Regions from separate parts of the Homo sapiens genome. Here region 2 is linked to region 1. Evidence: promoter capture Hi-C in human tissues and cell types (Jung and others, 2019). All regions are on one chromosome and are shown on one strand. The core of a region is centred on a gene start or on the middle of the fragment in contact, and the rest is flanking DNA. Distances in the headings are between cores, read along the strand shown. Region 1 holds the start of RNF216 (ring finger protein 216). Region 2 has its middle 24 kb from the start of OCM.

What was found. Contacts are between HindIII fragments. The study calls those that stand out against the background at their distance.
Region 2: a contact is called between a fragment that was not itself captured here and the fragment with the promoter of RNF216 in region 1, in 2 of the 25 tissues and cell types used here (heart right ventricle and mesenchymal stem cells).

The regions. Positions count from the first base shown.
Region 1 is chr7:5,777,935-5,784,102 of GRCh38, reverse strand. RNF216 (ring finger protein 216) reads left to right here and starts at 2,440. Exons shown (of 17, transcript NM_207111.4): 1 at 2,440-2,562. RefSeq lists a silencer at 2,642-3,031. The HindIII fragment of the contact is 32,599 bases long and covers 1-6,168 here.
Region 2 is chr7:5,853,458-5,859,625 of GRCh38, reverse strand. It overlaps the pseudogene ZNF815P. Among named protein-coding and RNA genes, the nearest start is that of OCM, 24 kb to the left of the region's middle. The HindIII fragment of the contact is 4,199 bases long and covers 1,721-5,919 here.

The DNA of each region.
Region 1 (6,168 bases), core at 1,191-3,690:
ACCTGCCTTGGGTGTGACACCAACCACAGAGGGGTTCAGTGGTCCGGAAAGAACCTTGCACTCCTGCTAAGATCACCAAGCTCTCCTTCCAATACTGCTTTCTTCCAACATCTCAAAGGGCTTATGAGGACCATCCTAAGAAGAAGGCTGTAACTGACAGCGATTATCCACCTCCCCCAAGAGGACCAGCATGGAGGATAAGCTCATCAAGGCCAATGCCTTTGTTTTACCTTCCAGGTGATTCCAGGATCTCATCTCAGGTAAGTATCTATCTTAAACTCTCTCTCCTGTTCACCCTCTAATGTCTCCCATGCACTGCACCCTCTAACTCAGGGCCTGACATCTGTAAGATCCCTAGATCCTCGTCCTGTTCTGTAAGCAGCCCTTCAATTTCTACTTCACTGAAACATGACTATTCCCTCAGGACACTGTTCCCCAAAGCACTATGAGTAGTGGTCTTTTTCTGTCCCATGCAAGCCCCCATAAGCCACACTCTACTGTCTTAGAGAAGGAACACTCATTGCCGCATCAAGACTATTGTTCCTCTCATTTCCCTGTTTTGTTTTTGTTTGCTTCTTTTGAGACAGGCTGTTGTTCTGTCATCCAGGCTGGAGTGCAGCAGTGCAATCATAGCTCACAGCAGCCTCGGACTCCTGGGCTCAAACAATCCTCTGGCCGGGTTTAGTGGCTCGCTCCTGTAATTCCAGCACTTTGGTAGGCCGAGGTGGGTAGATTACCTGAGGTCAGGAGTTCAAGACCAGCCTGGCCAACATGGTGAAACCCTGTCTCTACTGAAAATACGAAAATTAGCCGGGCGTGGTGGCACATGCTTGTAATCCCAGCTACTCAGGAGGCTGAGGCAGGAGAATCGCTTGAGCCCAGAAGGTGGAGGTTGCAGTGAGCCAAGATCGTGCCACCGCACTCCAGCCTGGCTGACAGAGTGAGATTCTGTCCAAAAAAACAAAACAAACAAAACAAAACAAAACAAAAAAATCCTCCCACCTCAGTCTCCTGAGTAGCTGGGACTATAGGTGCGCACCACCATGCCCGGCTAATTTTTATTTTTGTAAAGATGGGGTCTTACTCTATTGCCCAGGATCGTCTCAAACTCCTGGCTTCAAGCCATCCTCCCACCTCCATTTCCCAAAATGTTCGGATTCCAGGTATAAGCCACTATGCCCAGCCCAGACTCATTTATCTAATTACTGACTTGATATCTCTACTTGAAGGTGTACTTGGCAATTTTTTTTTTTTTGAGACACAGTCTCACTCTGTTACCCAGGCTGAAGTGCAGTGGCATAATCACTGCACTACAACCTCCCCCTCCTCGGTTCAAGCAATTCTTGTGCCTCGGCCTCCCGAGTAGCTCGGATTACAGGCACGCACCACCATGCCCAGCTAATTTTTGTATTTTTAGTAGAGACGGGGTTTCACCATGGTGGCCAGGCTGGTCTCGAACTCCTGACCTCAAGTGATCTGCCTGCCTCGGCCTCCCAATGTGCTGGGATTACAGGCGTGAACCACCACGCCTGGCCAGCAATTATTTTAAGAGTTGGGGTCTTGCTATTTTGCTAAGGCTGGTCTTGAACTCCTGGCCTCAAGCGATCCTCCTGCCTTGGCCTTCCAAAGCGCGGGGATTATGGACATGAGCCACTGTGCCCAGCAGGAGCAGTATTTTAGTCAGTTATTCACTTGCTCACTAAAACCTAAACTTCCTGAGGCCAGGAACACATTTTACTTTTTTTTTTTTTCGAGATGGAGGGTTGCTCTGTTGCCCAGGCTGGAGTGCAGGGGCGCCATGTTGGCTCACTACAACCTCCGCCTCCCAGGTTCAAGTGATTTTCCCGCCTCAGCCTCCTGAGTAGCTGGGATTACAGGCATCCGCCACCATGCCTGGCTAATTTTTTTATTTTTGGTAGAGACGGGTTTCACCATGTTGGCCAGGCTGGTCTCCAACGTCTGACCTCAAGTGATCCACCCGCCTTGGCCTCCCAAAGTGCTGGGATTACAGGCGTGAGCCACTGTGCCCAGCCATGGGACCCACTTTACTCTTAATTTCCCCAATTCCTAGAACAGTGTGTGGCCCACAGGAAATCCGCAGAATATATTTGCAGAATGAATGAATGACTTGCCAAACGAATTAGGGCAAATCAGTAGATATCGAGTAAACATCCACAACCACCTGCCCCATACCCTTTTCAGCTCTGGGGAGATGGTGGCTCCTTGTGGGGTCGGATATGGGGGTCTCCTTTCCTTTCACCCTCCTGCCTCGTGGGGGAGTCAAGTCTCCGCAGGCGGAGAGCCCGGATGCAGGCGCGACTAGGCGGCCCTCTCTATGGTGAGCCCCCCGGTCCCTCCTCCGCAGTACCCGGAGTGCCTCTATGGTTCTTCCTGTCCTTAGTCGGGAGGGGGCGCTGTGCGCAGGCGCGAGGTGACGCCGCGGCAGGGCCGGAAGGAGTGCAGCGGCTGCCACGGAGCTCGCAGCTGCGGCTTCTGAGGAGTAAGCGGCGCGGTAGCGAAGGCCGCCGAACCTGCCTGGCTAGCCGGCGACTTGAGTGACGAGTGAGTGTCGGCTGCGGGGCGCGCTCGAGCTCCTGGGCGGGTCTGTGAGGCGACGCGGCCTCTCTGAGGGGCGCCTCTGTGGAGCTCCGGGGGTGGGGGCGGGGGCGCGGGCCGTGAGGGCCGCCGAGCTGAGGGGCGCGGGCCGAGGCCCGGGCGGGATCGGGCCAAGGGGCTGGGCTGGGCGTCTCGAGCCCGGTGCGGTGGCGAGGCTGGAGCGACAAAGGCGCTGAGCGGCCGGGTGGCCCCCTCTCGCCACTTCGCGAAGTTTCGCGGGCCGGCCCCTCGGGTCTGCTGCGCGAGGGCAACAGCCCGGGAGACCGCGCTTCCCTCCCCCGGGCCCGAGGCCGCCGCGGAGGCGGTGTCCGTGCACCCGAGCGCGGCCTGGAGGAGCGGCGGGAGGCGGGCCGTGCCTGTGAACCCCAGCCCAGGCGGGCGGCGTTTTTCCTCCTCTTCCCTCACATCTGGAGCGCGTGTTCCGCGAAAGTTGGCGACTGTCACCCGGCACTCGCGAGGGCGCCGCAAGTGCGTCAAACCCTTCTGCGGGGCGCTGGGGGCTGGCCCGGCTCGGGTGTCCGGGCGCTGGGCAGCGAGCGAGGCCGCTGTCCCCGCGTCGAGGTGGTTCTGCTCCCGGTGGAACAGGACCAGGGATCCAAGACTCTGGGCCACTTGCAACCAACCCTGGAGCGTGCGCGGCGTGCGGGTTACAGAAATTTCTGACAAATCCGACAGGGCTCTGTAAATCCCTAAGGGCCTGGGTAGCAGCTGTCCTAGGTACTTAGATCGTGCAAAGAGAACGTTCTTTTTTCTTTTACTTTTTTTTTTTTCTCCTTTTCTTTGAGACGGAGTCTTGCTCTGTTGCCCAGGCTGGAGTGCAGTGGCGCGATCCCGGCTCACTGCAAGCTCTGCCTCCCGGATTCAAGCGATTTTCCTGCCTCAGCCTCACAGGGATTGCCTCAGCTGGGATTACAGGCATTTGCCACCACGTCCAGCTAATTTTTGTATTTTTAGTAGAGACGGGATTTCTCCGTGTTGGCCAGGCTGGTCTCTAACGTCTGACCTCAGGTGATCCCTCCGCCTCGGCCTCCCAAAGTGCTACAGTCTTTTCAAAAGACGTTTCAGATATGTTCTCCGGGACCCTCGGGCCCTTCAGTAAGAAGCGCCCTGGCTGAAAACCCACACGTTCACCTACAGAAGAAGCACTGTGACGTAGAGGGTGAGCAGAGCAGAGGGCCTCACAGTGGCCCTCACATGCACCTGGCTCCAGCCTGGCCAGGTCATTTTGCCCTGGTGGGCCTGTGCCTCAAAAATGGGGTTTCTTCCCTTGTGAGGAAGACCCATGAATTAGTAACGGAATTGCCAGGAATGCTAAAAACTATCTAAATGCCATGTATTGTTTTCAAGCTGTTACTCCTGGAAGGGGCTGGGTTGGCATTGTTTTAGAGGTTAGGAGCCAAACATCAGCTCATCTATTCTCCAGCTGTTGTTTGTCCTCCATCTTCCTGCAATAGTCAGGCACAGGGTCTTATAAAAATGGGTTTGTGCTGCTGTATGTTTCGGTGGGTACCTTTGTTTACTGAATGGGATGTAGGTGGGGGACCAGAGCATATCCGCGTCCCTCGGAAACAGTGGCGTTTTAGATGTAGTATGTCCCGTCAGCTCCTCTCTGCCCCACCCACCCCAGCCCATTCATTGAGCATTTTTTTTTTTTTTTTGAGGCGGAGTCTGGCTGTATTTCCCAGGCTAAAGTGCAGTGGTGCCATCTCTGCCCACTGCACCCTCCGCCTGCCAGCTTCAAGTAATTCTCCTGCCTCAGCCTCCCGAGTAGCTGGAATTACAGGCGCGCACCACCACGCTCGGCTAACTTTTTTTTTTTTTTTTTTTTTTAAGAGACGGAGTCTAGCTGTGCTGCCCAACTCCTGGGTTTAAGTGACCCTCAGCCTCCCAAAGCACAAGAATTACAGGCTTTAGCCACCGTGCTCTGCCAGAACATTCTTTACGCGCTGAGAAGGGAGAGAAGCGGGAAGATTCTATGAAACATCTCAATTTAGTCGGCTTGCTTTAAGGAAGAAGGCTAATACATGGCCTGGCTTTGCCTTGGTTTTGTATTTCATAATTTATTGCGCCTGGGGTGTGGGGAGTAGTGGTGGATTTGAGGAAATGCCTGGAGAGTCTGGGCCAGATTTTGGACCCCCTGGCAAACCTCATTCGAGGCTTTAGATTTTTACCCTGATTAGAGCAGCAGCAGCTAATAAAAGAGAACTCCTGAAGCCCCTGTGGAGAAATCTGATAAAGAAGGGTTAGGTGTGAGTGAGGCAGATCGAAAGTTGATGAATAGGATAGTTGAGAGAGCTGGTATTTGCTGATTCTACTACCAGCTACTATTTAATGTGTTTACAAAATTCTAGGCATTGCTATATTCTAGCTCTTTAGAGACATAATTCATTCTCATACCTGATATCATTATATTTGCATTATTGTTAAAGATAATAGAACATAGTTGGGAATGGTGTGGCTCACGCCCGTAATCCCAGCACTTTGGGAGGCCGAGGCGGGCAGATCACCTAAGGTCAGGAGTTCGAGACCAGCCTGGCCAACATGGTGAAACCCCGTCTCTACTAAAAATACAAAAATTAGCCAGGTGTGATGGCGTGCGCCTGTAATCCCAGCTACTGGGGAGGCTGAGGCAGGAGAATCACATGAACTCGGGAGGCGGAGGTTGCAGTGATCCGAGATTGTGCCACTGCACTCCAGCCTGGGTGACAGAGCGAGACTCCGTCTCAAAAATAATAATAATTTTAAAAAAAGAAACTGAGGTGCTGAAAAATATCTAGTCCCAAAACTTGTAAGGGTCAGCGTGGAACTTGAACTCAGTTTGGACCCAGAGTTCATGCCACTAATTATCCTTCTATAATTAGTGAGTGCTATTTATTCTGAAAGTACATCTACTATTGAAGATCATCTACTGTGCCATCCGATATGCTATGTCCTGGGGCTTTGGGATCAAGTGACACTTTGGTTCTGCCTTCTTGGAACTTAAGTTTTAGCAGAGGAGACCAAAATTACACATAGTTTCCTAAATAAGTATATTAAAGTATTGTTGGAAGTACTTTGAAGAAATGAGGTACGTTGTGTGATTGAACCAGGGAGGAACATCTAGGGGATAATCAGGAACAATTTTTCTCTGAGGAGAAAGCAAAGAACCGAACAATGAATAGAGTTAATTTGGTCCAAGAGGCAGTGAAGAAGAGTAGTTTAGCTGGGGAAGAGCCTGCAGTGGAAGGAAGGAGCAAGTCATGGAACTGAACCATTGTTACTACTGAATGGTGAATGCGGGGGGAAAAGGTATGAGGTAAGGCCCGCTATGTCAGCAAGGTCAGGTGATGGTAGCGTTTTGTAGGCCATGGTAAGGATTTCGGTTTCACCATGGTGAGATTTGTGGTTTAAAAGAAATAACTCAAATGCCGTATGAAAACATGTCAAGGGATGGAGCCTGCAAGGCAGTACTTGGGCTAGAAGCAGAAGCATGTCCTTTGGTCACAGAAGATTCAGTTCTAAAAAGATCGTTGAAAACGTTGATTTTACCCTCCACACATGAGGATGTACTTA
Region 2 (6,168 bases), core at 2,571-5,070, 74 kb before region 1:
AATGACCCGGGACAGATGTCAGAGTTGAATTCAGAGAATTGTTCCAAAGCCCCAAGAACTCTCATGTTGGCCAGGTGCAGTGGCTCACAATTGGAATCCCAGCACTTTGGGAGGCCGAGGCAGGAGGATTGCTGCCGGCCAGGAGTTTGAGACCAGCCTGAGCAGCAGAGCGAGACCCCATGTCTACAAAAATGTAAAAAGTTAGCGAGGCATGGTAGCGCGTGCCTGCAGTTGCAGCTACTTGGGAGGCCGAGGTGGGAGGATTGCTTGAGCCCAGGAATTCATGACTGCAGTGAGATAGTTGTACCGCTGCACTCCAGCCTGGGTGACAGAGCGAGAACCTGTCTCTAAAAAATAATAATTAAAAAAAAACCCTCATGTTCTTATCTAGATATGACCTTGAATGGATAGAAAGAAGCTCAGGAGACAGGAGATCCCATCCTATCTTGGGCTTTTCTAGCTGTCTGCCCTTGGGAAATTCACTTAATCTCTCAGAACATCAGTTTTCTTCTTTTTATTTGATTTATTTTTTGAGGGACAGAGAGTCTTGCTCTGTGCCCCAGGCTGGAGTGCGGTGGTGCCATCTTGGCTCACTGCAACCTCCACCTCCTGGGTGCAAGCAATTCTCGTGCCTCAGCCACCCGAGTAGGTGGGATCACAGGCCCATACCACCATGCCCAGCTAATTTTTGTATTTTTAGCAGTGATGGGGTTACACCATCGCTACATTTCTCCTGGCCATCGTTGGCCAGGCTGGTCTTGAACTGCTGACCTCAAGTGATCCACCCACCTTGGCCTCTCCAAGTGCTGGGATTACAGATGTGAGCCGCCATGCCCAGCCTGATGTCAGCAAATTCTTTTTACCAACCCTCCAATCAACCACTTCCTGGTGCTGGGGCTCTGACACCTTGCTCACCTCAAGTGATCCACCTGCCTCAGACTCCGGAAGTGCTGAGATTACAAGTGTGAGCCACCACGCCCAGCGAGTTTTCTTTTCTCTTTCTTTTTTTCTTTTGAGATGGAGTTTCCCTCTTGTTGCCCAGGCTGGAGTGCAATGGCGCAATATTGGCTCACTGCAACCTCCGCCCTCCGGGTTCAAGAGATTCTCCTGCCTCAGCCTCCTGAGTAGCTGGGATTACAGGCGTGCAACACCACGCCCAGCTAATTTTAGTATTTTTAGTAGAAACGGGGTTTCACCTTGTTGGTCAGGCTGGTCTCAAACTCCTGACCTCATGATTCGCCCGCCTCAGCCTCCCAAAGTGCTGGGATTACAGGTGTGAGCCATCATACTTACCCATAACATGCTCATATTTTCATTTACCTTCTTGAACATACCAAATAGTTGTAGTAAGTGTTTTAATCTCTTTATTAGTTCTATCTTTGTCATTTCATTTCATTGATTTTTCTCCTCTTCCTGGGATATAATCCTTGCTTCTTGGCATACCTGATGATTATTTTTTTTCAGAGACAGGATCTTGCTGTGTCACCCAGGCTGGAGGGCAGCGGCACCACCATACCTCACTGCAGCCTCAACCTCCTGGGCTTCAGCAATCCTCCCACCTCAGCCTCTCAACTGACTGGGCTTACAGGTGTGCACCACCACACCTGGCTAATTTTTTAGTTTTACTTTTGTAGAGATGAGATCTCGCTATGTTGCCCAGTCTGGATCTTGAACTCCTGGCCTCAAGCAATCCTCCTGCCTCACCCTCCCAAAGTGCTGGGATTATAAGTGTGAGCCAACACTTCCTGCCATGCCTGGTGATTTTTTACTGGGCACCAGATATTGTGAATTTTACCTGGTTGGGTGCTGAATATTCTTGTTTAAAAAATATATTCTTGAGCTTATTCTGGGACATGGTTAAGTGACTTGGAAATAGCGTAATCTTTTTTTTTTTTTTTTTTTTTGAGAGTGAGACTCGGTTTGTCACCCAGGTTGGAGTGCAGTGACACAATCTCAACTCACTGCAACCTCTGCCCCTTGGGTTCAAGCGATCCACCCACCTCAGCCTCCCTAGTAGCTGGGACTACAGGTGCGCACAACCGCGCCCAGCTAATTTTTGTATTTTTAGTAGAGACGGGGATTTCACCATGTTGGCCAGGCTGGTCTTGAACTCCTGACCTCAGGTGATCCACCCGCCTCGGCCTCCCAAAGTACTGGGATCACAGGCGTGAACCTCCGCACCCAGATGCGTGGTCCTTTTGAGACTTGCAGAACTAGACCAACCCTTAGTCTAGGGCCAATTCTGCCGCACCACGAAGGCAACGCCCCTCTGAACACTTGATTCAATGCCCCAGGTATTATGAGGTTTTTCACTTTGCCTGCTGGAAACACGAACGGTTCCCAGCTTTTTGTGGACTTTGGAATTATTCTGCCTGTTTCTATTGTGTGATTCCTTCCCCTAGTCTTGCTCGGGTAATTTCCTCCATGTGTGAGGTGATCCCACTCAGCTTCAGAGTCAAGAGGTTTCCTTTGCAAAGCTGCAGAATTTGGGTTTTTTTGCATATCTCTCCCGCAGGATTCCATCCTGCAAATTCCAGCTGCTTTGGCCTGCTCAAACTTTTTTTTTTTTTTTTTTTAGAGACAGAGTCTCGCTTTCTGGCCCAGGCTGGAGGGCAGTGGCGCGATCTCGGCTCACTGCAACCTCCACCTCCCAGGTTCAAGTGATTCTCATGCTTCAGCCGCCTGACTAGCTGGGATTACAAGCATGCACCACCACGCCCAGCTAAATTTTTTGTATTTTTAGTAGAGACAGGGTTTCACCATGTTGGCCAGGCTGGTCTCGAACTCCTGACCTCAAGTGACCCACCCACCTCGGCCTCCCAAAGTGCTAGGATTATAGGCGTGAACCACCGCACCTGGCCAGGCCTGCTCACACTTTCAGCTCTGTCTCCTGCACTCAGGGAGAACACTGGGCTCTGCCCGGCTGCCCTCCTCCCGCGGCAGCTGGAAACACTTTGCCTCATTGGTTTCTCCCCTAACGGAGATCATGGTCTTTAGTGCCACCTATTGACCGGTGTCTAAAAACTGCCTTTGCGTATGTGTTGTACGGTTTTCTAGGTATTTAAGGCAAGAGGGTTAATCCATCTTGGCCATAAGTTGGGGAAGTCTCCACAATTTTTACAACATTTTGGGAGTCTGAAGGGGGAAGACTGCTTGAGACCAGGAGTTCGAACCCAGCTCGGGCAACACAGCAAGACCCCAATCTCTCCAAGAAAATAAAAATACTAAAAGTAGCCGAGCATGACAATGTGCGCCTATAGTCTCAGCTACTCGGGAGGCTGAGGTGGGAGGACTGCCTGAGCCCAGGAGATCCAGGCTGCAGTGAGCCATGTTGGCACCACTGCACTCCAGTCTGGGTGACACAGTGAGACCTTGTCTCAAGAAAAAAATAAAACATTTTAAGTTCCTGGAAGGGTGAGTTAGAGGCTATATAAAGAATTAAAGCTTTTTTAAAATCACATTCCCAAATTATTGGTCAAAAGGGAGCAGTGGGCCGGGTGTGGTGGCTCATACCTGTTATCCCAGCACTTTGGGAGGCCGAGGTGGGCGGATCACCTGAGGTCAGGACTTTGAGACCAGCCTGGCCAACACGGCAAAACCCCATCTGTACTAAAAATACAAAAATGAGCCAGGCGTGGTGGTGAGCACCTGTAATCCCAGCTACTTGGGAGGCTGAAGCAGGAGAATCACTTGAACTGGGGAGGCAGAAGTTGCAGTGAGCCGAGACAGTGCCTCTGTACTCCAGCCTGGGTGACAGAGCAAGACTCCATCTCAAAAAAAAAAAAGAATTAAAGCTTTTGGTGGCTCACACCTGTAATCCCGGTACTTTGGGAGGCTGAGGTGAGCAGATGGCTTGAGCTCAGGAGTTCAAGACCAGCCTGGGCAATGCGGTGAAACCCCATCTCTACAAAAATTATAAAAATTAGCCAGCCATGCTGGCTCACACCTGTAGTTCCAGCTACTCAGGAGGCAGAGGTGGGAGGATCGCTTGAGCCTGGGAAGTTGAGGCTGCAATGAGCCCTGATTTTGCCACTGTACTCCAGCCTATACAACAGAGCAAGACCCTTCTCAAAAACGAAAAGAAACTGCTGTTTCCTATGTTTTGTACAGTTGTAGGTATTTAAGGCAAGAAGGGTTATCCATCTTGGCCATAAGAAGGGGAGATCTCCACAATTTCTGTAAACATTTTAAGTTCATGGAAGGGGAATTGTGGGTTAGAGGCTATATAAAGTATTAGGATTTTTGATAATAAGAAAATATGGGCTAAGCATCGTGGCTGTAATCCCAGCACTTTGGGAGGCCGAGGTGGGTGCATCACTTGAGGTCAGGAGTTCGAGACCAGCCTGGCCAACATGGTGAAACCCCCATCTCTATTAAAAATGCAAAAAAAATTAGCCAGGCATGGTGGCGGGTGCCTGTAATCCCAGCTACTCAGGAGACTGACACAGGAGAATTGCTTGAACCCAGGAGGAGGAGATAACAGTGAGCCAAGATCATGCCATTGCACTCCAGCCTGGACAACAAGAGCAAAACTCCATCTCAAAAAAAGAAAAGGGCACATATGTGTGCGTGCAACAGAATACAGAATATTTATTTCCAGAGGAACCCTGACTTCTCCAGGCTCCTCGGTTTGTCCTTCTTTGTGGGCATGATTTATGCAGCTGCCTATAGATGTCACCACAGGAAGGCACGTCAGAGGTAATAAAAATCCCAGAGTGAGAACTGCGGCACCACGGCAGAGGGCCAGAGCACGAGTGCAAAGGCCCCGTGTCAAACACAGAAGAGGTTTTTGTTTTAAATCACGACATCTAATGGCTCACACCTGCAACCCTAGCATTTTGGGAGTCTGAGGTGGGAAGATGGCTTGAGCCTAGGAGTTAGAGACCAGCCGAGGCAACATAGCAAGACCCTGTCTTTACCAAAAATAAAAAAAAAAAAAAATAGTTGGGCGTGGTGGCATGCATCTGTGGTTCCAGCTCCTCGGGAGGCTGAGGCAGGAGGACCACTTGATCCCAGGAGTTTGAGGCTGCAGTGAGCTGTGATCACACCACTGCACTCCAGCCTGGGTAACAGAGTGAGATCCTGTCTCAAGTAAAACATAAAATAAAATAACATAAATAAAATTAAAATTAAAATAAATAAAATGAAATAACAAAATAAAATAACATCAGTCCACAGAACCCAAATCTTCGCCCAAGATAGAGTGACAGCCTTTACTAAAACAAATATGATCACCAGCAACCAAATTAAACACGGTCCACGTGAAGAGTGAATGAGGAAAGATTTTGGTTATGCTCAGGCATTTGGACCAGTTTAACTGAGGTCAAATTTTTTCAGATTTTTCTTTTCAAAAGCTGGTTGTGGAGTGGAGTTCAGGAGCATGTTCTTCATAAAGTGGCTCTTTGTGGGTCGGCCCTGGTGGGCGGGATTTCATCAATCTCACCAACCTCATTATCTAACATGCTGAATATGTAGCATCGATCAACGAACGAGATCCTCGGTCTCATGAAGTCAGCTTTCTGGGGAGGAGAAAAGAAACACAAATAAACAAGGAAATAAACGCCCAAGGTGGAAATAAGACAGCGTGAGGGTCAGGTTCCTTGAACTCACGTTTTTTTTTTTTTTTCTGAGATGGAGTTTCACTCTGTCGCCCAGGCTGGAGTGCAATGGCGCTATGTCGGCTCACTGCAACCTCCGCCCCCCAGGTTCAAGTGATTCTCCTGCCTCAGCTTCCTGAGTAGCTGGGATTACAGGCACCTGCCATCGTGCCTGGCTTTGTATTTTTAGTAGAGATGGGGTTTTACCATGTTAGCCAGACTGGCCTCGAACTCCTGACCTCCAGTGACCCACCCACCTTGGCCTCCCAAAGTGCTGAGATTAGAGGCATGAGCCACCACACCTGGCCGAGCTCATGTTCTTGAGTCACCCTCTGTCCTTTATAGAGAAGCAGTTTGGAGATTTCGTCCTACGTGTCTGAGGCCGGGTGCTATGGCTCATGCCTGTAATCCCAGTAATCCCAGCACTTTGGGAGGCTGAGACGGGAGCATTGCTTGAGCCCAAGAATTCGAGACCAGACTGGACAACATAGTGAGGCTCTATCTCTTCAAAAAATAAAAAATTAGCCAGGTGCGGTGGTGCATGCCTGTGGTCCCAGCTACTCAGGAGGCT